Regions from separate parts of the Homo sapiens genome. Here regions 1 and 3 are each linked to region 2. Evidence: promoter capture Hi-C in 16 types of primary human blood cells and fetal thymus (Javierre and others, 2016). All regions are on one chromosome and are shown on one strand. Each heading gives the region's core, a stretch centred on a gene start or on the middle of the fragment in contact. The rest is flanking DNA. Distances are from core to core; before and after follow the strand shown.

What was found. Contacts are between HindIII fragments. The CHiCAGO score rates a contact against its expected background, and 5 or more counts as called.
Region 1: a fragment that was not itself captured here is called in contact with the fragment with the promoter of ZNF607 in region 2 in 13 of 17 cell types (total CD4 T cells, naive B cells, non-activated CD4 T cells and 10 more); the score reaches 10.3 in total CD4 T cells.
Region 3: a fragment that was not itself captured here is called in contact with the fragment with the promoter of ZNF607 in region 2 in 1 of 17 cell types (fetal thymus); the score reaches 5.0 in fetal thymus.

Annotation. Positions count from the first base shown.
Region 1 is chr19:37,235,803-37,239,964 of GRCh38, reverse strand. ZNF383 (zinc finger protein 383) reads right to left here. Exons shown (of 6, transcript NM_001387601.1): 5 at 3,891-3,986. Among named protein-coding and RNA genes, the nearest start is that of LINC01535, 14 kb to the left of the region's middle. The HindIII fragment of the contact is 3,665 bases long and covers 442-4,106 here.
Region 2 is chr19:37,716,985-37,721,237 of GRCh38, reverse strand. It overlaps ZNF607 (zinc finger protein 607), which reads left to right and starts at 1,477. Exons shown (of 5, transcript NM_032689.5): 1 at 1,477-1,969. RefSeq lists silencers at 1,716-1,825, 1,886-1,975. The HindIII fragment of the contact is 3,190 bases long and covers 1-2,197 here.
Region 3 is chr19:37,214,537-37,218,890 of GRCh38, reverse strand. It overlaps ZNF383 (zinc finger protein 383), which reads right to left and starts at 677. Exons shown (of 6, transcript NM_001387601.1): 1 at 617-677. RefSeq lists an enhancer at 562-1,051. The HindIII fragment of the contact is 190 bases long and covers 1,367-1,556 here.

The DNA of each region.
Region 1 (4,162 bases), core at 1,025-3,524, 480 kb after region 2:
GATGGTCTCAATCTCCTGACCTCATGATCCTCCCGCCTCGGCCTCCCAAAGTGCTGGGATTACAGGCGTGAGCCACTGCGCCCGGCAGATCTTGCAGTAACTTTCATCTAGTTAAGCTCCCAAGTAAAGTTTTGAAACTGCCCTCTTCTGTCTTCCACTGCCAATGTCATCTTCCAAACCAGAATCAACTCTTACCCAGACCAGTGAAGTAGCCTCCTCAACCAGTCTCCCCACCAAGCTCTCTCACCCTTTAATCTATTCAGGGAATAGTATCATTTGGCTTAGGTTTCCACTGCTCAAAGTCCGAACTCCTTACAATCTCCTGCAAAGGCTGAATGCTGTGGCTCCTGCCTGTCTATCCAAACCCTGACTCACACTCCACTCCCACTTGATCATGGGGCCCACCAACACTGGCATTTAGTCCTTCAAACACACCAAGCTTTTCCCCATCAGAACCTTCACAGGGGTTCTTCTCTCTGCCTGGAGTTTTCTTCTCTAGTAAAACATTAAACAAGACCTAGTGGCAAGCCTAGTACTACATTAATTCTGAAGTAGTGATGAGCATAAATATTTCAATATGCCTACAATAACAGTAAAATAATATGAACGTATCTGTGATTTCCATTAATGTCAAAGTCACAGTAACTACTACTACTACTACTGCTACTATGGTTTGTCCCATACATCACGATAGGAAGAAATGTTATATCTCAATTAGAGGTTATTAAATATAAAGATGTATTTTTGGTCTGGGCACAGTGGTTCATGCCTGTAATCCCAGCACTTTGGGAGACCAAGGCAGGTGGATCATGAGGTCACAAGTTCAAGACCAGCCTGGCAAAGATGGTGAAACCCCATCTCTACTAAAAATACAAAAATGAGCCGGGCGCAGTGGCAGGCGCCTATAATCCCAGCTACTCAGAAGGCTGAGGCAGTAGAATCGCTTGAACCTGCGGGGTGGAGGCTACAGTGAGCTGAGATCACACCACTGCACTCAAGCCTGGGTGACAGAGTGAGACTCCGTCTCAAAAAAAACCAAAAAGATGTATTTTTTTCTTCTCATCCAAGTTCATGGACTCCCTGAATTCTACCTAAAGGAATCCAAAGTTAGGAACCCCTAGAGCAAGAATGATCCTTTGCAAACATGATAATATCACTCTGCTAAATCATTCAATGGATTTACACCTCATTCGGAGTAAAATTCAAGGTCCACAAGACCCAAAATCATCTACAGGTACATCCAACTCCCATCCTGACCTGCACCCAGCATGCAAACACTCATAAGCCTGCTACTTTCCTGATCTCCTCTTCTACAATTCCCGCTTTGCTCATTCAATTTCAGCCATAATGGTGGCTGCCAAAAAGCTCTGAACTCGAGTACTTGGCTCTTCCTGTTCCCTTTGCCTGAATCTCTCCTAGCAGATATTTACATTACCTGTTCCCTCACTTCCTTCAAGTCTTCACTAAAAGAACACCTCATCAGAGAGGCCCTCTCTAGCCTCTCTTCACAGCACTTATCTATCACCCACCACCTGACATTTCATATACACATGGACATATAATAATATAGAAATATTATTAATATATGATATATATTTATACTATACCAATATATTAGTTACATGTAGATAAATGTAAGTGATATATAATTCTAAAAATATTTATATATCATATAATATTAATGTCATGCTAATATTGTTTTATACATATATACTTGACATTCATGTTTATCTTCTGCTATGGTTTGAATGTCTCTCCTTCAAAATTCAGCTGTTGCCAATGTGATAGTATTAAGAGGTGGGGGCCAGACACAGTGGCTCAAGCCTTTAATCCTAGCACTTTGGGAGGCCAAGGTGGGTGGATCGCTTGAACCCAGGAGTTAGAGACCAGCCTGGGCAACATGGCGAAACCCTGTCTCTACAAAAAATAGAAAAATTAGCTGGGCGTGGTGACGTGTGCCTGTGGGCCGAGCTACTCGGGAGGCTGAGGTGGGAGGATCACCTGAGCCCGGGAGGTTGAGGCTGTGGTGAGCCATGATTGTGCCGCTGCACTCCAGCCTGGGTGACAGAGTGAGACCCTGTCTCAAAAAAAAAAAAAAAATTCCAAAAACGAAGAGGTGAGGCCTTTAAGAGATGATCGGGCTTCAAGGACCCATCCCTCAAGGATGGGTTTCGGTGCTCTTACGAAGGGGCTTGATGGAAGGAGTTGGCTCTCTTGCCCTACTGCCTTCTGCCACACGAAGATGCAAGAAGGCCCTCATCAGATGACAGTGCCTTGATCTTAGAATTCTTAGCCTCCAGATCTATGAGAAAATAAATGTCTGTTCTTTATAAATTACTCGATGTGAGGTATTCTGCTGTAACAGCACAAAATGGACTAAGACATTTTCTCTCTTACCCTCTAGAATGTAGGCTTCAGAAGTGCAGAACTTTAGAATGCCTTCATGAATACTACAGTCCCAGCCCTTGGACCAATGCTTGGTACATAGTAGTGCTCAATAAGTACTCTTCTGGTTCTCCTACTTCATCCCAAATCTCTCCTGCTCTGCCACCTCTTCCTTTTTAATATAGGCACAGATCCTTTTTTTTTCTTGGCCCCAACAATATCTCTATACATAGTGATTGCAGTCACTTCCAAGGCTCCACCTACTACTTCAATAGGGATTAATTCCACTTCTACATAGTTAGCCTTTGACTTTCTGCTAAACTCCTTATCTCATTTCTCTTTTATACTACTCTACTTTGTGGAAGTCATATATGTATATATTTTAGCACCACTTTTGGACCTTGAATTTGTAAAGGTAACACAATTAGTAAACTGTAGCACCTGGAAGATTCCCTTACACAAACCAGGAAATTAAAAAACGTTCCATAAAGGAAACATTGAAGACAGTCTGATAAAACAGGTCACTGACAGGCAGCTATAATGAAGACCAGTACTTGGGCAAGGGGTGTGTGTGTGTGTGTCTCTGTGTGTGTGTGTGTGTGTGTGTGTGTGTGTGTGTGTGTGTTCACATGTGTGTATACAGACGCAATTATATTATTTTGGGGAGTGGTAGTAGAAAACACCTGTACAAGTCTAAAAAATGCAGAAGAGGGGCCGGACGCGGTGGCTCATGCCTGTAATCCCAGCACTTTGGGAGGCTGAGGCGGGTAGATCATGAGGTCAGGAGTTCAAGAACAGCCTGGCCAATATGGTGAAACCCCACCTCTACTAAAAATACAAAAATTAGCTGGGCATGGTGGCATGCGCCTGTAGTCCCAGCTACTCAGGAGGCTGAGGCAGAAGAATCGCCTGAACCCGGGAGGCAGAGGTTGCAGTGAACCAAGATCGCACCCTGCACTCCAGCCTGAGCGACGGAGCGAGACTCCGTCTCAAAAAAAAAAAAAAATGCAGAAGAAGAAAAAGAATTAGCCAGGCATGGTGGCACAGGCCTACGGTCCCAGCCACTTGGAAGGCTGAGGCAGGGAGACTGCCTAAGCCCAGAAGTTTGAGCCTACAATAAGTTATGATCATGTCACTGCACTCTAGCCTGGGTGACAGAGCCAGACCCTTTAAAAAAAAAGAAAAAAAAAGAGAGAGAGTAAAAAAAGCTAGCAAGCAGCTGAATCTAAAATACGGGTAAAATAGGGTTTTTTTTAGAGAAGTAAAAGGTACCTTCTGCTTGAAATTAAGAGGAGGATTGGAGAGGAGTAGTAGAAATAGTGGTAAGTGAGGAAAAGGGCGAAACAGGTTATTTAACAACTATGCTAAAAGGACTTCATTTTCTCCACTGGCCTAGTTTCTTGATGGGAGCTTCAGGGATAACATCTCAAAGGTGCTGTTTCCTCCCTGACCAGCTGAGTTCTGACCTATCGTGACTTTCTCCTGTCCGGTCATTTCTCACTTACCTGAACACAGGCCTCTTGTAAGCTCTCTGCCAACCATCCAGGGCTCTTTCCCTTGTTCCAATAAGGAGATCACTTGAGGCTTAGGAGTGTAAAGTCCTGCTCACGAGAAAAGATATGGAACATGGTTATGCTGGGGGTAAAGGAGATCCAGTCCCTTGATGATCACAGGAAGAGATGCCACTACAGGAACAGCCAAAGAAAGATGAAGATGAAGCTTCAACCACAGCCCACTGGAGTTGCCAATTTCCCACTCTTCCTTTTCATTTCAGCTC
Region 2 (4,253 bases), core at 228-2,727:
TTGGGAGTTCGAGACCAGCCTGACCAACATGGTAAAACCCTGTCTCTACTAAAAATACAAAATTAGCTGGGCATGGTGATGCATGCCTGTAATTCCAGCTACTCAGGAGGCTGAGGCAGGAAAATCGCTTGAACCTGGGAGGTGGAGGTTGCAGTGAGCCAAGATCGTGCCATTGCACTCCAGCCTGGGCAACTAGAGCAAAACTCCGTCTCAAAAAGAGAAAAAAGAAAAAGAAAATAATATGTGGAGTCAATTTAATCCATTGATCTATGTGTGGTATTTCTGAGAGATTATTCAGGAGATTCAGGAGCAACAAATCCAAGAACTAATTAAGAGAAGAAAAAGTGATCAATAAGTTCTTAAATTGTAACTTTAATAGTTTTTTTTCCTTGACTATTTGTATTTTTGAATGGTGATTTTTTAGTTTTGTTCCTTTTCCTCTTAGGGTATAGACAAATATTTTTTATTTTTAAATTAATTTTACTTATTTATTTTTTGAGACAAGGTCTTGCTCTGTTGCTCAGGCCAGAGTGCGGTGACACCATCATACCTCACTGAAGCCTGAACTTCCGGGCTCAACTGATCCTCCTACCTTTGTCTTTGGAATAGCTGGGCCCACAGGCGTGTGCCACCACACCAGGCTAACTTTCATTTTTGGTAGAGTTTGGGAGGAGGAGAGGGGTGTCTCACTATGTTTCTTAGGCTGGTTTTGAACTTCTGGCCTCAACTGATCCTCCTGCCTTGGCCTCCGAAAATGCTGGGATTAAAGGCGTGAGCCACCGTGCCCAGCCTGTATTCATCAATATTTTATTAAGCCAAAGAAACAGGAAATTCGGACTATTAAATATTTGTCCGTTTTAGCTGTTGTAAATATTTCCCCCAAATTTACTTACCTAAAAATTTTTCTTATTCGTTTTTTACCATTTGGAAATTTTGGATGCTTCTAAATAACTATGAAGATTTACAAAGTATTACATGAAGGATCAAAAAAATTTTTTAAATTTCTTATTTTATCTTCAAGAAGCCTATTCCAGAACAAAAATAATAAAACTATTTAGCAGTTATTTCTTCAGATGATTTTTTAGTCAAATTTTTAGTCAAATATATTCGTGTCCAAAGATGAAGAACATAATGTCATGTATTGAAGAATGTGATGGAACTTCAAACCCTCATATAGGACGTGAGTCCATTTACTTAGCGCTTGACGAGACAAGCTGGGCCTGTCGGGTGGTATTAAAAGTCCCAGTCCCATGTGTTACCAAGGAGGCCGGCTCTACCTCAGGAGCCATGAGGGTTTCGGCGCCCCACCCTGAGGAGCTCACACCCATCCAGCAGGTGATCCCTTCCGAGGCTACCTGGATCAGTTTCTACTCAGACTCGCCTCCTACTGGCCCTAAGAACGCACTAACTCCACCCTAAGCCTCAGGCCAGGGGCCCAGTAGTGGCCGATCTGCGCATGCGCACTCGAGGCAAGGCGGCCACTCCCAGAAGTCTCCGGGGCTCGAGCGGTGGGTGGGAGGCGCGGTCCAAGTGGTCGCTGCCGTATTTCTCGTAGGTTTTTAGGATTCTGGACTCCATTTCTCACCGGTACCTGCGGTCCTGACTGTTCTGGCTTGGACTACATATTACAAAGGCAACGGAGAAAACTTGGACCCCTGGCTCCGGTTCCGGGACCTTTTGGTTCCACCTGAAGAAGGCGGCGCAGGTCACTGCGGGAGCCTCTGCAGCCCCAGCCCGCCGCCCGCGTGGTACCCTGCGTGGCGGTGAGAGTGGGGCTGCAGGAGGCGCTCAGAGCGCGGAGGCCCCCAGGCGGGCCGGGCGAGTCTCCCGCCTCCTCAGGCCCTAGGGTGCTGGAGCTGCGGAGGAGGGGCCCGTCTCTAGGAGACAGGCGGGGAGCGTGAGAGACCGCGCAGCGGCGACAGGACCGGCTTGCCTGTGTGACGTGGGTGCAGTTGCGGGACTGTGAGGGGTGCGTAGTCGACCTTGTGTGACCTGTACATGCCGTGTGTGTCCTTTGTAAAGCGTGCTTCGCTGGGCTCTGTGGGGTCTATTGACCCTTGGCTCCAGGTTCCCTGCTGCTTCCTGTGCCTTCCTCAGCCTAGTACGACTACAACAGAGAAATGGTCCCAATGGGAAATCAGATACTGAGTCTTAGATGAAGATTTCCAGTGAGAAGAAACAGATAGGATGAGAAGCTTAGAAGAGTAATTGCCCTTAAGAAAGGTATGATAGATTCTGTTAAATAAAAAAGTATTCAGTGACACTTGTTAAAGCATGCAAAGAACCCTTTATTCAGGACCATGGTGGTAGGTATTGGGATCCCGGCTGTGAGATTTTGCAGTGGGTAACAGACATTGGGCTCAACTCCGAATTCAGCATGAACAAGTGGGAATTTATAGCCAAGAAGGTTAGGGATCACTGGATGAGAAATTACTAAGAGGAAATGTCTGGGTTAAGGAAGATTCTGACTAAACGCACCTAACAGGATTATTTCTGGAGAGAGAGACCTGGGGGACGGTGGAGGATGAAGATACGGAGGCGAAAGGGTCTTGCTAAACTGACTTAGAATAGTTCTTTGCTATAGCCAGATTTTACAGTGAAGTGTACAGATGGGCCTAGCTGAAGGTGTAGTAGCCTGACTAAAATTTGGTCTGGCAGGGTTTGTCAGTTTCGAGTGTAGGATTCCCTCCTGAAAAGGGTTGTTACTCCGCCCCCACCTCCCGGTTCTTGGAGTTTCATTTACATGTTTAACAAACACGGCCTTGAATTCTGACCCCAAGAACCTGCAGTGAAGGATGATTGCAGGTTCCATCCAACATACTTCCTTCTGGTCGTGTGTATGAAATTACGCGCCTGCAGCCTTGGAGGGGGGAAACATAAGCGCTAAGTATTATGAGGCAATTTTGGATATTCCGTTTTGGATTTCTGTAGATCAAAAGCAACAAGAATATGAACTTAGCCGTGATGTGAAGGAAGTGAGCCAGAATTTAAGTTTTCCAAAATAGGAATTCTCGGTCATTGGTGTACTGTCTGTAGACCAATGCCCTTATGGGCATAAGGGACATCACAAACCCCCTGAAATTCTATAAAGAATTCCTGTACATGTTTGTTAATTTGCATTTTTCTAGGATGTCCATAATCCAAATTATTTAGACTCAGGTTTTAGATCTGGAATCAAAGAGTTTTATACCTTTGAATGGTTTTGCAGAAAACTAATGAACGAGATTATGGGAATGGTTAAGAAAATTATACAGCGTCCAAGGGATTGGATATTATACAAATAATAAGATTTATGTTTGTAAAGAATCTGTCACAGGATAAATAGCTGTGATCTAATGTTTAACACTATTTAGAGTTACAGTGGTGGATCACAGTTCTCAAACTATATATGCAACTCTTTTTCTTTCTTTTTTTTTTTTTTTTTTTTTTTTGAGACTGAGTTCCGCTCTTGTTGCCCAGGCTGGAGTGCAATGGTGCGATCTCTGCTCACTGCAACCTCCGCCTCCCGGGTTCAAGCGATTCTCCTGCCTCAGCCACCTGAGTAGCTGAGATTACAAGCATGGGCCACCATGCCTGGCTATTTTTTTTTTTTTTTTGTATTTTTAGTAGAGACGGGGTTTCTCCATGTGGGTCAGGCTGGTCTTGAACTCCCAACCTCAGGTGATCCACCCACCTTGGCCTCCCAAAGTGTTGGGATTACAGGCGTGAGCCACCACGCCCAGCCGCAGCTCATTTTTTAAAAATGGAATTTTGGGCCTGGCACAGTGGCTTCCGCCTGTAATCCCAGCACTTTGGGAGGCCGAGGCGGGCAGATCATGAGGTCAGGAGATTGAGACCATCCTGGCTAACATGGTGAAACCCCGTCTCTACTAAAAATACAAAAAATTAGCCGGGCGTGGTGGTGGGCGCCTGTAGTCCCAGCTAGTCGGGAGACTGAGGCAGGAGAATGGTGTGAACCTGGGAGGCGGACCTTGCAGTGAGCCGAGATCGAGCCACTGCACGCCAGCCTGGGCGACAGCGCGAGACTCCGTCTCAAAAAAATAAAATTTAAAATTAAAATTAAACAAAGGGAATTTTGCAAAAACTTTTGCAAGGATTGTATCCAAAATGATTATTTAATTGGTTTTTCAGAGAGGAATGAAAGGGTTGTGGCTACATTTACTGAGCATATAATGTGTGCCCCAAATTATTGGACCTATTTTGTGTACCTGTTCCCATTAGATGTGCAGAAGCCATTTCCCTGTCCACTAAGG
Region 3 (4,354 bases), core at 212-2,711, 500 kb after region 2:
CCCCAGGACCCCTATTGAGCACTACACACAATCACACATTCAAAATAACACAATGACCACTAGGACACACATATCACCCCGGCACGATTACACGCACTTTCCAACCGCAGACACAGTGCTACATAAAGTTACATGGTCACACTCTCACATTCTCACGTTACTGGGTTATTTCTGGGTAGTAGATTTACTCAGTAAGGCATCCAGTACACTTAAGTGCTGCTAACAGTCATACAAACACAATTACACACACCCCTCAGACTAACACACAGTCACAGCCTCATCAGATTCTCTCCACACAAACACCCTCCACAAATGTCACGCAAAGTTACACAGCCACACACAATCACAGTCCCAACACGGGACACAGTCATACCTACACATACAGCCTTACATTGTTACAATTACACAACTACAACGAGGATATACAATCACACCCGCGCACACAGAGAGGCACAGTCACATAAGGTCACACTCACACACGGAAGCCCACGCCTCGCGCCCGCCTCCCCACCACCCCCTCTATCAGCCCGACCAACTCATACATGCCCGACACACTCATACATGCCCAACACTCCAGACCAGCCTGGTCAGTCCCTTCAAACTCCCATGCACGTACCTGCGGGCCCCAGCCGAGCCTGCAAGACCCAGGCCGCTCACCGCGCACTTCCCCTACCCTTGAGGCGGAGGGTCCAGCAGGCAAATGAAGGGGCTGCCCTGGACTCGCGGGGGCCTCTGGGAAATACAGTCCGGAGTAGGACCGCGCCGAGAAGATGGCGCCTGTTTTTTCGGGTTCTTGCAGCTGCACAGCTCGGGGACATCCCTGCTCCGCACTCCGAACCGCTACCCCGCGTCTCCGTGATCCAGACACAGGCTCAGAGTGAAACTGCCGTAGGACGCTGGCCCTGCACGCTGAAGACAATCTTCCTCCATGGTACCGGCCAACCCCAGGGAGTTCCCTGAGAAACAGGAAAAGGTCGCCAGCTTCGGGCCAGATGTTGACTAGAGCCGCAAGGATTTTTGGGAACTGTAGTCTAGAGCAGGAAGGGGTGAGGCGCTGGGGCAAGTGGAAGGAGGTCGCTTAAATGACTTCCTGCCCCAAGCCGACTCAGTGCAGAACGCACCCAGGACCCCGGACTGTACTAGGCGTTATAACGCTCTCTGAGAATGCTAGACTGACTAAATCGTCATTTTTGCCTTCATCCGTGGATAAGCCACATACTGTATGACTGCATTTATAGGAAATATTTAAAATAGTCAAATCTACGGAAAAGGAGTAAGTTAGAGTTTTTTAGGACTAGCAGGATTAGGGGGAACTGTGAGTGATTGGTAATAGCTAAAGGGTTCATTTTTGGGGTAATGCAAAGCTTCTTGAATTAGATAATGATGTTTGCACAACTCTGAATACACTAAAAGTGACTGAATGGTACACCATAAACGAGCTAATGTTATAGTTTGTAAATTATATTTGTGTGCATGTTTTTTAAAAATCAACTTTACTGAAGAATAATTTAGATACAATAAAATGCACTCATTTTAAGTGAACTGTTCGGTAAGCTTCAACGCATGTCTAAACCCTTGTCACCACCATCGTAATCAGGATATAGAATATTTTTTAAAATTAAAAAATTTTTAAGCATTTTAGTTAAATTTTTGTGGGTACATAGTAGTTGTATATGGGGTACATGAGATGTTTTGATACAGGCATGCAATGCGTAAGAATCATATCATGTAAAATAGGGTGTCTATCCCCTCAAGCATTTATCCTTAGTGTTACTGGATATAGAATTTTTTTTTTTTTTTTTTTGAGTTGGAGTCTAGCTGTCACCCAGGCTGGACTGCAGTGGCGAGATCTCGGCTCACTGCAAGTTCCGCCTCCCGGGTTCAAGCGATTCTCCTGCCTCAGCCTTCCGAGTAGCTGGTATTACAGGTGCCCGCCACCATGCCTGGCTAATTTTTGTATTTTTAGTAGAGACAGGGTTCGAGCTCACAGGCTGGTCTCGAACTCCCGACCTCGAACTTCTGACTTCGTGATCCGCTCGCCTCGGCCTCCCAAAGTGCTGAGATTACAAGCGTGAGCCACCGCGCCCGGCGGATATAGAATATTTTTATTCACCGCCCTCTGCCCCCCACATTGTTAAGTCAATCCCCACCTCCCAAACCCCACATCAGGCATCTATTGACTATTCTAAGGAATGAGCAGTAGTATCAAATTATGTTTTTAATTTGCATTTCCTGATGTCAATGAACTTAGCATACTTTCATATACTTATTTGCCATTCTTTTATCTTCTTTTGTGACATCTATTGAAAATATTCGGCTGGGCGCAGTGGCTCACGCCTGTAATCCTAGCACTTTGGGAGGCTGAGGCGGGCAGATCACCTGAGGTTGGGAGTTCGAGACCACCCTGACCAACGTGGAGAAACACCGTCTCTACTAAAAATACGAAATTGGCCAGGCGTGGCGGTGCATGCCTGTAATCCCTGCAGGAGAATCACTTGAACCCGGGAGGCAGAGGTTGCTGTGAGCTGAGATCACACTGTTGCACTCCAGCTAGGGCAACAAGAGCAAAACTGCATCTCAAAAAATAATAATAAATAAATAAATAAATAAAATTTTCTTATTTTAAAATTGGTTATTATTGAGTTGTAACAATTCTTTATATGTTTGGGTAAAAGTCCTTTGCCAAATATACATATTGCAAATTGCAAATATTCTCTCCCTGCCTGGGGCTTACCTTCTCAGTTTTTTTTTTTTTTTTTTTTTGAGACAGGGTCTTGCTCTGTTGCCTAGTCTGGAGTGCAGTGGTGTTAACATAGCTCACCACAGCCTTGACCTCCTGGGTTTAGTCGATCCTCCTGAGTAGCTGGGACTGCAGGTGTGCACCACCACCCCCAACTAATTTTCTTGTGTTTTGTGGAGATGGGGTCTCACTGTGTTATTACAGGTGTGAGTCACTGTGCCCAGCCCTCAGTTTCTTCATGATGTCTTTCAAAAAGCAGTTTTTACTTCTGATGAAATCCAATTTCTCATCTTTAAAATGTGCTTCATGCTTTCTGGTCTTTCTAACAATCTTTGACTCCTCTAGTGTTGTGAAGAATTTCTCCTATGTTTTATTCTAAAGGTTGTATAGTTTTAGTTTTTATTTTTGGTCTATCATCCACTTGAAGTTAGTTTTTGTGTATGTGAGGTAATGTTCAAAGTTATTATTTTCCAGATGGAAATTCAGTTGTTCTAACATCACATGTTAACAAAACTATCATTTTCCTCTTGAATGACCTCAACATCTAAAGTAGGCAGGATAATGTTCCCCCCAAAATACCCACATGCTAGTTCCTGGGACTTGTGAATATGCTATGTTACATGGCAAGTGGAATTAAATTAACAGGTAGAATTAAAGTTGCTAATCGGCTGACCTTAACATAGGGGAATTATACTGGATTGTCCAGTTAGACCCAATGTAATCACATGGGGTCTGAAATGAGGAAGAAGGCATAAAGTCAGTGTTGGAATTGTGTGCTGTGAGAAACACACGACCAGCCATTATTGGGTGTAAAGATGAAAGGAGCCCATGAGCTGAGGAATGCAGGCAGCTTCTCCAACTTGGAAAATGAAAAAAAACAAATTCTCCAGAGCCTCCAGAAAGGAATGCAGCTTGCAAACTTTTGATTTTAGAGCAGAAAAAACTCATTTCTTTTTTTTAATTTTTAATTTATTTTTTTAATTTTTATTTATTTATTTTGAGATGGGGTCTCCCTCTGTTGCCCAAGCTGGAGTGCAGTGGTGGGATCTCGGCTCACTGCAACGTCTGCCTCCTGGGTTCAAGTGATTCTCCTGCCTCAGCCTCCCTAGTAGCTGAGATTACAGGCACCCACCACCATGCCCGGCTAATTTTTCTTTCCTTTTTTTTTTTTTTTTTTTTTTTTTTTTTAAGTAGAGACAGGGTTTCATCATGTTGGCTAGGCTGGTCTTGAACTCCTGACCTCAAGTGATCTGCCTGCCTTGGCCTCCCGAAGTACTGGGATTACAGGTGTGAGCCACTGCACCCAGCATTTTTTTTTTTTTTTTTTTTTTTTAGAGACAAGGTCTTGCTCTGTCTCCCAGGCTGGAATGCAGAGGTATGATCACAGCTCACTGCAGCCTCATACTCCTGGACTTAAGCATCCTTCCGCCTAGGCCTTCTGAGTAGCTGGGACTATTGGTGTACACCACCACACCTGGCTAATTGAAAAAAAAATTTATAGAGAGAGGGTTTAGTTATGTTGCCCAGTCTAGTTTCAAACTCCGGGCCTCAAGTAATCCTCCCACCGAGGCCTCCCAAAGTGCTGGGATTACAGGCATGAGCCACCACAACAGC